Regions from separate parts of the Homo sapiens genome. Here region 1 is linked to region 2. Evidence: promoter capture Hi-C in human tissues and cell types (Jung and others, 2019). All regions are on one chromosome and are shown on one strand. Each heading gives the region's core, a stretch centred on a gene start or on the middle of the fragment in contact. The rest is flanking DNA. Distances are from core to core; before and after follow the strand shown.

Evidence for each region. Contacts are between HindIII fragments. The study calls those that stand out against the background at their distance.
Region 1: the fragment with the promoter of PPP1R1A here is called in contact with the fragment with the promoter of LACRT in region 2 in 1 of the 25 tissues and cell types used here (liver).

The regions. Positions count from the first base shown.
Region 1 is chr12:54,586,071-54,590,768 of GRCh38, reverse strand. It overlaps PPP1R1A (protein phosphatase 1 regulatory inhibitor subunit 1A), which reads left to right and starts at 2,110. Exons shown (of 7, transcript NM_006741.4): 1 at 2,110-2,364. The coding sequence starts at 2,281. The HindIII fragment of the contact is 17,679 bases long and covers 1-4,698 here.
Region 2 is chr12:54,631,939-54,636,479 of GRCh38, reverse strand. LACRT (lacritin) reads left to right here and starts at 1,585. Exons shown (of 5, transcript NM_033277.2): 1 at 1,585-1,696; 2 at 3,247-3,300; 3 at 4,099-4,239. The coding sequence starts at 1,639. The HindIII fragment of the contact is 5,914 bases long and covers 1-4,541 here.

The DNA of each region.
Region 1 (4,698 bases), core at 861-3,360, 46 kb after region 2:
GTGAGAGACTTGGGGAGGAATTTCCATGACCAGACCAAAGTTTGAGGGAGAGCACGGAATACGAAAGAGGACTAGGCAGCCTGGATGTCTGGGGTGGGGGTGGAGAGGTAACCACTCTGAGAGGTGACCACCCCTCAACTCTGCCGTCCTGCCAGGAAATAACAATAAAACCAGCAGCTACAATTAACCGTGACCTTCTATGCACCAGGTACTCTACCCAAGATGATACTCAACCCTAGGAGGTGGGATCCTCTGTCTGTTTTACAAATGAGATGGAGGCTCATGAGAGAAGCCTGAGTCCCCAGACATAGGGATGTGGGAATCCTGGCTTCACATCCCATGGTCCTGGTAGAATGGGATGGGGAATAGACAAGTCACCTATTTAGAGGATATTTGGGATCCTGCTCTGTGGATGTGTGGTTAGGAGGTGGGGTGAGTAGGAAGGAGGCCAGAGCAAGCAACTGGGCCCTAATGAGCCAGGTATCTCCCTAGCCCCCAACCGTTATCCTCTCTGCTTCAGGGCCTTCACGATCTCTTTCTCCACTGTCACTTCTTGTGGGGGGATCTGCGCAAAGGTTGGGAATGGAGACGGGGAAGCCCAACCAGCTGTTTTCCACCTGGCCCTGCCACACCAGAGAGCAAAGGGGCCCTGCAAGTGCAGGCTGGGTGTCAGGAGTCAATCCTGGAGTCCAGGTGACAGCAAAACAGGGGCCAGTTAACCTGCAGACAGAGGTCCAGCTGGCCCACTGGGTCCCCATAACCCCAGCCTTACCCTGAGAAAACTGAGCCCGACATGTGTAAAAAGATATGGCTGGGGGGAAGGCAGGACAAGTTATTTTGTGAGGTTAGAGGGGAAGGGGCCTTGTGAAATCAAGGTCTGGAAAGGGCTGCCCAGGAGAGGAGGCAACTGAGAGTTGAGGCTGACACCTTAGAGGAGAAGATGACCATATGGTTCTCCAAGAACCAGGCATGAATCTGTATGGCACTTGCCAGTTGCTTGGTTTAAGGCTAAAGAGACAGACCCCTTCCCCTCTTCCAGGACTCCCTGTGCCCTCCTCCCCATCCCCAGTTCTTCTCTCCACCTTCTCCTCCCGAAAAGATGCATCCAGCCCTACCCCTCCCCAGTGCCCAGCACATCCCCTCCCCCATCTAGTGATCCCCAGTCCTTAGACCGAGCACACCAGCTCCTGTGAATATCCTGTCTCCCTCACTGGCTCGTATTGACTGGCATCTTAGTCTTCCACCAAACTAGTCAGTTCTTCCCATAGTCTAACCTCCATTCCTTCAGTTACAGCAGCTCGTTTTCAGTATCCTGCCAATAGTGAAATTAGAAACCAACCCTATCTGTAAACAAGCCACCCCACCAAAGGAGTTTCTCTCTCCCTCCCCAGGCATTTTCCCCTTGCAGGCCTTTCACCTACTTTACCATCCCCTAATTTAGCAAGCAGAAAGAGAACTCGATTTCACAAGCAGGATTGGCTCCCCACCATCGTTATTCCTTTTGTCGAGTCCCAGATGGTCCTCTCTCCCCAAGCCCTCCACCCACTCCCACAGGCACTTCGAGAGAAACGCGCCCTCCGGAGACCCTCTGAAGTCTTCAGTTTCCTCTCCCTGGCACTGAGGGAACACAGGACGGGTGTGCAGACTTCGTATTTCCCTCCAAGTTTTTACCTCCGCCTAGTGTTTTCCTTGCAAAGGAAAGTCCCTCTCGAAGTCTAACCTTAATCCCTCCTGCTGCATGCCTAAATCCCCTTTCCATCTTTTCTCTATAATACAACCCCCTTTAAAATCATAAATGCAATCTTCCTCTCGCGTTTAGTCTCCTCTCCTGCAGCGCCCCTCTACTTTCCTAGCCCCAACAACCTGCTCCGGCTAGGAGAAGTTCTTCCTAGCCACTCCCCACCCCAACGCCCTGCCCAAAACTCCGAGGACACTGAGGTATCTGCCTGAGCTGTCCACTACGACGGCTCCCGGGCCACGCCCGGACTCGGCGGCCCGCGGGGCGGTGACCCCCGCAGCCGCCGGTGCAGCCACGACGGGGTTAAGGTTCCGGGCTGGGGGAGGGGGAGGGGGCCGGGAGGGGCGGGTGCGGAGCCAATCGGCGGCGGCAGAGTCCCCGGAGCCGCGAGCTGGGAGCGCTGTGCCGGGAGCCGGGAGCCGAGCGCGCCGGGCTGGGGCCGGGGCCGGAGCGGAGCGGAGAGGGAGCGCGCCCGCCCCAGCCCCGAGTCCCGCCGCCTTCCCTCCCGCCGCAGCGCGGGCCCACCGGCCGCCGCCCCAGCCATGGAGCAAGACAACAGCCCCCGAAAGATCCAGTTCACGGTCCCGCTGCTGGAGCCGCACCTTGACCCCGAGGCGGCGGAGCAGGTGCGGAGCAGGGCGGGGCGGCAGGGCACTCGCCCAGCCAAGGACGAGGGACCCCTGGACTGGTGGGACCCAGGATCCCTGCCTAGTCCTCCCTTAGCAGTGCGCCCTTTTGAGGACGAACGCTCAGTTTGCGGGGGGCGGGGGGGGGTCTTCTGTCCCCTCCCCCACCGTCGGAGCCACATCTCGAATCTGTGCTTCTTTGAGACTGACCGAAGGAAGAGCGCCTCCACTCGATGCCTGGCCCCGCGAGAGTCGCTCTCTTCCTCCCCAGTCCTGGGGGAGGGGGCCTGCTTGAGGACACGACCCCTCCCTCCTTAAACAACCCTGCATCCCCCACCCAGTCAACCCCCACTAGAGTTTCTGAGCTTGGTGGTGGCGCTGAAGGGAATCAGCAGCAGTGCGGGAGGGGCCTGGGGAGGGGTCGGTAATGGAGAGGGAGCCTGGAAGGGTGGGAGTTGGAAGAGGAGAAACAGCTCTCCCTGTCCCCTCCTAACTGGGGGCCACCTTGCTGGGCTCCGAAAGTGATAACAGGAAGGGACTGAGGACCACTGAGAGGGCTGGGGCTCCAGGGAGAGGGGAGAGGGGTGGTCGAGTTGTAGGCTGAGGCTCCCTTCTTCAAGTCTCCGCACATGGCCCTTATTCCCAACTCCTGCCCTTTGGAGTGGGGAGTCCAGGTGGGACTGAGCCAGCAGCACTGGGAGGCCAGAGGTGGAGTCTTTCCAGGGGCTGGGGTCCAAGCTGAACAATATGCAAGGGAGAAGCACTGTGACAGCCTTGGCTCAAGGGGTGGGAGTCCAGGGCCCTGGCCCAGCCTCCTAGCCTGGTCTATTTTTAGCTCAGAGCAGCCTGGCAGAGGGGGCAGTGTATGAGAGTGTGTGAGCAAGTGTATGCCTCGGTGAGAGTGAGCGTATGTGTGGAGAGGGTGGCCACCCGTGGTCCTTACTACTCCTTGTTTGCCAAATATTTGCTTATTTGCCTATTGCTCCATCTCTTTGTAATCTCTGTCCATTTGCCTAGACATTCCCATTCCTAAAGAATATCAATTTCCCACAAGGTCAGTTCTCTGTTTCTCTCAACAAGCTGCCAGGCTCTGGCTGGCCACCCCCAACCTGAAAAAAACTTTGTGACCTCTTGGGATGAGGTGGAGAGAGTGTTTTTTGTCATTTTTGTTGCTCCAGCTGTTTGGTAGAATAAGGTCTGATGTGAAGGGAAGCGGGCAGGGGTACACACTCTCCCTACCACTTCAGCTTCCCAATGTGGAGATAGGGTTAGGTACCTGCGTCTCCGTCCTCTCTCTGGCCTGGGGTGAGCCACCACCTCAGAGCTCTAAGGTGTGACTACGGGAAGGCTCTTGGTGAAGCCTCACAAATCTGTAGAGGATGAGGAGGATGGAGAGCCATCAGCATGGGTTGTGTTCCCTGGGAGTCAGGGGAAAGGCTGCTATGCCTGGAGGCAGGGCATCAGCCAGGATAACCTCAGACCCAGGAAAAAGGGCTCAAGAGTCTGGACTGTGGAGGTTGGGGATGCAGTTCCAAGGAGAACTGCCTCCCACTGGCACAGACAGGGCCCGACACCTGTATCTGTTGGGTGTTGGAGGAGGCAGGTGTAGTAGGTGGGTAGGGAGGAGGAGGAGGAAGGCCAGCTGGTTCAGGGATCTAGGAGACAAGGGAGGGGCACAAGGCAATCCTGAGGAGTCAGAGGGAAAAAAGAGAGCCGGGACTTGGGCCTACTTTCACTAATCTTCAGAATTTGTGTCTCTTAGGCCTGAAATTCTTCCTGTGGCCTAACCTCAGCCCCTCCTGCTGTGTTAGGCAAAAAGCTCCAGGCTTGGCAGGTGCTCCTAACCCAGACCAACATGGGAGGGCAAAAGGAGTTGGAAGCTCTGAGTTATAGAGCACAGAGTGGCAGGCGGTGGAGGGGTGCCCACAGCTTCCAGATCCTTGGCATGACTGCTTTGGAAAGAAATCCGAGGCGAAGTTATCACATGCTCCTGAGAGCTAGGATTTGGGATAGGTATGAGAAAAGGAAAAGAGACCATCTACTTATTTCCCACTAGTTCAGGTGCCTGGGAGGTACCTCAGGAAGTCTGACTTTCCTCCTTCCTGCTGTAAGGGTATCACGATTCCCAAGGACTCTGAATGCTTAGAAACCTTGTCCAAAGCAAAGGAATAGGTCAAGGAAGTGATGTGTCCAAGACCAGACAGCCCTGCTGCCCTCTGTCATACTTGCAGTCTCTTTCTTGGGCTCCCCACTCTGATGTTATCTCAACCCACTGATCGCCACTCCACCCTCCTTGTCTCTTTCCTACTACCACCACCACACCCTGCCCCTCCA
Region 2 (4,541 bases), core at 336-2,835:
TGGAGACTGCTCGGGATCTAGATCTGTTTGGGATCTGCAGGACTTCTCCTTCTGCAGTGTACACACACGTGCACACACGTATGTGCACATACCCAGGGCACTGGTGCCATCAAAACTTTCTCTTGTTCTTCAGCCTTCCCCATTCCAGGTAAGGCCACCACCACCTTCAAGGCTCCCAGGCCCAGACCCTCAGGCAGGTAGCAATTGCCAAGGCTTTAATGTCCCACCCCATTAATTTTATCTTCCTTTATCTCCTGAAAAGATTAATGTTCTAAACCCTGGCACCCAAAACACCCTCATGTTGAAAACTCTTCAATACCCCCTTCTCACACTCATCTTCAGAGCTACCATGAGGCAGAGAAGCCTCCGGAATCAGCCCACATGGGGCTGGGTGAATGCCAACACCAAGCAAGGGGAAAGTCACAAATTGACATCCAGCACCTTATTCTCCACCCTTCAGCCCCTCAACTGACTCCTGCTCCACGGCCCGTTCTATTAATATCTAGCATTTAGCACCAGCCTGGACAAAAACCTACTTGGAAAGATGGTACAAGAACCCCACACAACTCCATAGAACTTCGCTGTCTAAAAAAATGCTTTGCCGTATATTATCCCACTTAATCTCCACCACTATGCTGTACATAGGAGCCACAACTCCTAGACAACAAATAAAAATCCTATCACTTTTCAAATCCTAACATTTTCATATGACAAAGCCAGAACTCAAAATCCAGACCTCTAGAGTCCCAGATCAGGAAAGGAAGAAACGCCAAGTCAAAGAGAAGCTTCTTTAGAATAATCTGCTTTTCTGGATTATTCACACCATGGGTCAGCTCCCCACTTGAAGTCAGAACCAAGCTCCAATTTCAGTGAACCACCATCATGCTTTGACCAGGAGATTCTCTCAGAAATGTGGGGTCCCATTGAGTAGGCCTGAAGACAGAGATTGACAGGCCTATGTGAGCCTGGAGGAGTTCTTTTTAGGGGCTGGATAATGTCAAGAACAGAGAACAACTCCAGAGAAGGCACACACGCCTTCAAACCCATCCCCTCATGGGGAGAAAGCAGCCAGGAACTCAGGCCTCAAGTGTTCTAGGTGTGGTCTCCCAAGGAAACGGGCTCACTTAGTTTGGGGAAACCTTCAAACCCTGCACTGAGTCCTATGTAGACTGGGACAGAAGGTGGACAATGTAATCCCCTGAGCCCTCAACCTCCTCCTGGAGAGATGACAAGATTAAGATTTCTCTACCAGAACCCTCAACAGACACATCCCAGAATCTCCCCAAGTGAAATGTGCTCTACCTACCGTCCCTGAGAGCCCAGGGGTGTGAACCCAGAGGGCAGGTGTGGTGGGGAAGGGAGGAGGGAGAAAGAAAAGGGATGGCTGGGAGTTAGAGAAAGGCTCCTATCCAGGACCTGCCTGCAAGGATCCCAGGTATCAGCCAGCCCAACCTAGCCCTTGTTGACTTAGCAGGTGACAGTTTGGGGAAGAAGGGGAGGAGGATGCGGAAGTCACACCTCTCCAGGCTTGGTTCCCATTGGCCCTTGATATCCTTAAAAGGGCCCAGCAATTTCAGCATCCTTATTCCCCAGACCTTCTGCAGATTCTGTGGTTATACTCACTCCTCATCCCAAAGAATGAAATTTACCACTCTCCTCTTCTTGGCAGCTGTAGCAGGGGCCCTGGTCTATGCTGGTGAGTATGGCCTTTCCTCTGCGCCCCACAAGAGTCCTCCCAGTCCAAGGAGCCCCTCACTCCTGCCTTCACCCCTCTCCTCCTCTCTCAGTGCTATTCTGGTTTCCCTGCCTCTGCAAGTGACTCCTCTCCCAGTTCTCCACACGTGGCCTCTGCACCCCACTGGCCAGAGGAACCCAGAACTCTCTGGCCTCTGCCTGCCCTCCCAGCTCATCTCCTCACACACCATTGTTTACCCACTATGCCTCAGCTACACTGGCTTCTCTGGTGTCCCCTGCATGTAGTTGAGCAGGGTGTCCCCTACACGAGGGTGCCCAGGCAAGGAGTGGTAGAAGCTAAAATCTGGCCGACACTCTACTTGCCAAGCAGTGAGCCTGGCCCCTGGCTGTGTCTCTTAGGAGGAAGGGATGCCTTTTTTTTTTTTTTTTTTTTGAGACCGAGTCTCCCTCTGTTGCCCAGGCTGGAGTGCAGTGGCACGATCTCTGCTCACTGCAACATCCACCTCCTGGGTTCCAGCGATTATCTTGCCTCAGCCTCCTGGGTAGCTGGGACTACAGGCTCATGCCACCTTGCCCAGCTAATTTTGTATTTTTAGTAGAGACGGTGTTTCACCATGTTGGCCAGGTTGGTCTCGAACTCCTGACCTCAGGTGATCCGACTGCCTTGGCCTCCCAAAGTGTTGGAATTACAGGCGTGAGCCACCGTGCCCTGCTGGGATGCCTTTTTTGATCCACAGAAGCACTATTTGGGCCATGATGATCCTGCTGTTCCTTGAACATCAGGATCTTCCTTCTTGTCCTTTCCTCGTCTAGAATGCTTTCCCTCTCCCTGGCCCCTTCCCCCAACCAACTCTAATGTCACCTGGCCAATGATTTTTCATCTAGAAAATCTCAGTTTACATATAATTCCCCAAAAAGGCCTTCCATGCACATGCGGAACAAATCAGATCCATGTGCCCTTCTCGCACCAGGCTGCACGTTCCCTTCCAGCACTGTCACACCAGCCATTAAATAATTTCGTAAAAGGACAGATGTAAGCTCTGTCAGGGCAGGGGTCTTGTCTGCCCTCTTCAGCACTGCACCTCCATCTCTTGGCACAGAGCTTTGCATAAATGTTGTGTTGAAAGAATAAAGGGAATCAAGGCTGGGGTCTCAATCCTGCAAATCGCTCAAATATGGCCCCATAACCCCCACATACTGTCCTCCTCCACCACAGAGGAGGTTGAGCCCCTCTGACCATGGCCAGCTCCATGACAGACACCTCAGGGAAGCCTACCAAGCCAGGGGCCAGTCAGGAGGAAGGCACTGTTCCAAGAGACATTACACTTCTCAGAGGGGAAGTTATTTCAAAAGCCACAGGAGTTAAACATCAGAGAGTGCCCCAGTAGACCCGCTGATATGGTGGAAGGGCATGTCCAACCCAAAGGGAAATTGATCCCCTTCTATCCATGAGCATTCCCAGGAGATAAGCTTTGGGAATGGGAGGGGAGGGTGGCTCGAGTAGGTCCGGTTCGGTCCTTGCTCTCATCTGGCATGTTTCCCCCATTGCAGAAGATGCCTCCTCTGACTCGACGGGTGCTGATCCTGCCCAGGAAGCTGGGACCTGTGAGTCCTCCTCTCCCTGCTGCCCTAGCCCTCGTTGGGAAGGTTTAACAGTTAGGGATGTGAGTGGTGGCTGGGAGAAGAAGCCAGTGGGAGGAGATCTGGATTCTGTGCTTGGTGGTAATGGGGAGGGGCAGGTAATATAATAAAGAAGGTGGCATGGGTTGAAATGGTACAAGGCTAAGGACAAAAGAGGATGACCCAGAGAGGCAAGGACAATAGGGAGCATGGGGAAAAGGTTATTGTGAATAAAAGGGAGAGAAACATGAGGTTAAGTGGTAAGGGCAATGTCTCACATGGCATTAATACCTTCACCTGCAAACACCTCCCATTACTCCCAATTCCTTAGCAAGATAACCATTATCTGGCCTCTAACCTCATTTTCCAACCCCATTTTCCATGACTCTCTTTTATGTCGCACCCACATCAGCTAAATTGAACTTGTTTCCATTCCCCACACATGCCTTCGCCTGACCTCTTACTCACTGCCTGCCCCCAGGGAAGCCCCTTTGGTACATCCTCTCCTGCTAACATCCTGCCTTCAAGATCCAGCTTCTCTATGAAGTGCTCCCCGATTCTCACCATCCCCTAGTCCAAATCCTTCCCCAACCCTGCCCGCTGCATTCCAAGAGACACACAGCATGCAGAAATGCTATCTCCCTTAAGGGGGCAGCGTTTAAGCCATATCACTTCTGTATCCTGGCACCCAGCACACATTAGGTATCCTGGGGCCCTGCAACCCATTCCAAAAGAAACAAACACTTTCACTTTGCTAAAATCCATCAATTTGTGCATTCACAGCTAAGCCTAATGAAGAGATCTCAGGTCCAGCAGAACCAGCTTCACCCCCAGAGACAACCACAACAGCCCAGGAGACTTCGGCGGCAGCAGTTCAGGGGACAGCCAAGGTCACCTCAAGCAGGCAGGAACTAAACCCCCTGAGTAAGTCTCTGTCTCTATGCCAGATCAACAACCTAGAAAAGTCTCTGGCTGCAGGCCCACATCACACCTCCACGCACAGAGATAAGCCTGGTGAGAAGCAGGTAGACTCAAACAGCTGAACACAAAGGCACAAATGGGATTGTGCATTGCACCCACACACAACGTTTTCACAATAGTAGATGTTGCAGCCTGCACAATACATGGTTTCTGTCCTGGCTCACACAACTTCCTATGAGAGAAGTGCTGGAGCCCTCAGCAAAACTTCTGCACTTTAGGACTTTCTGTAGGGATGATGTCCTGGG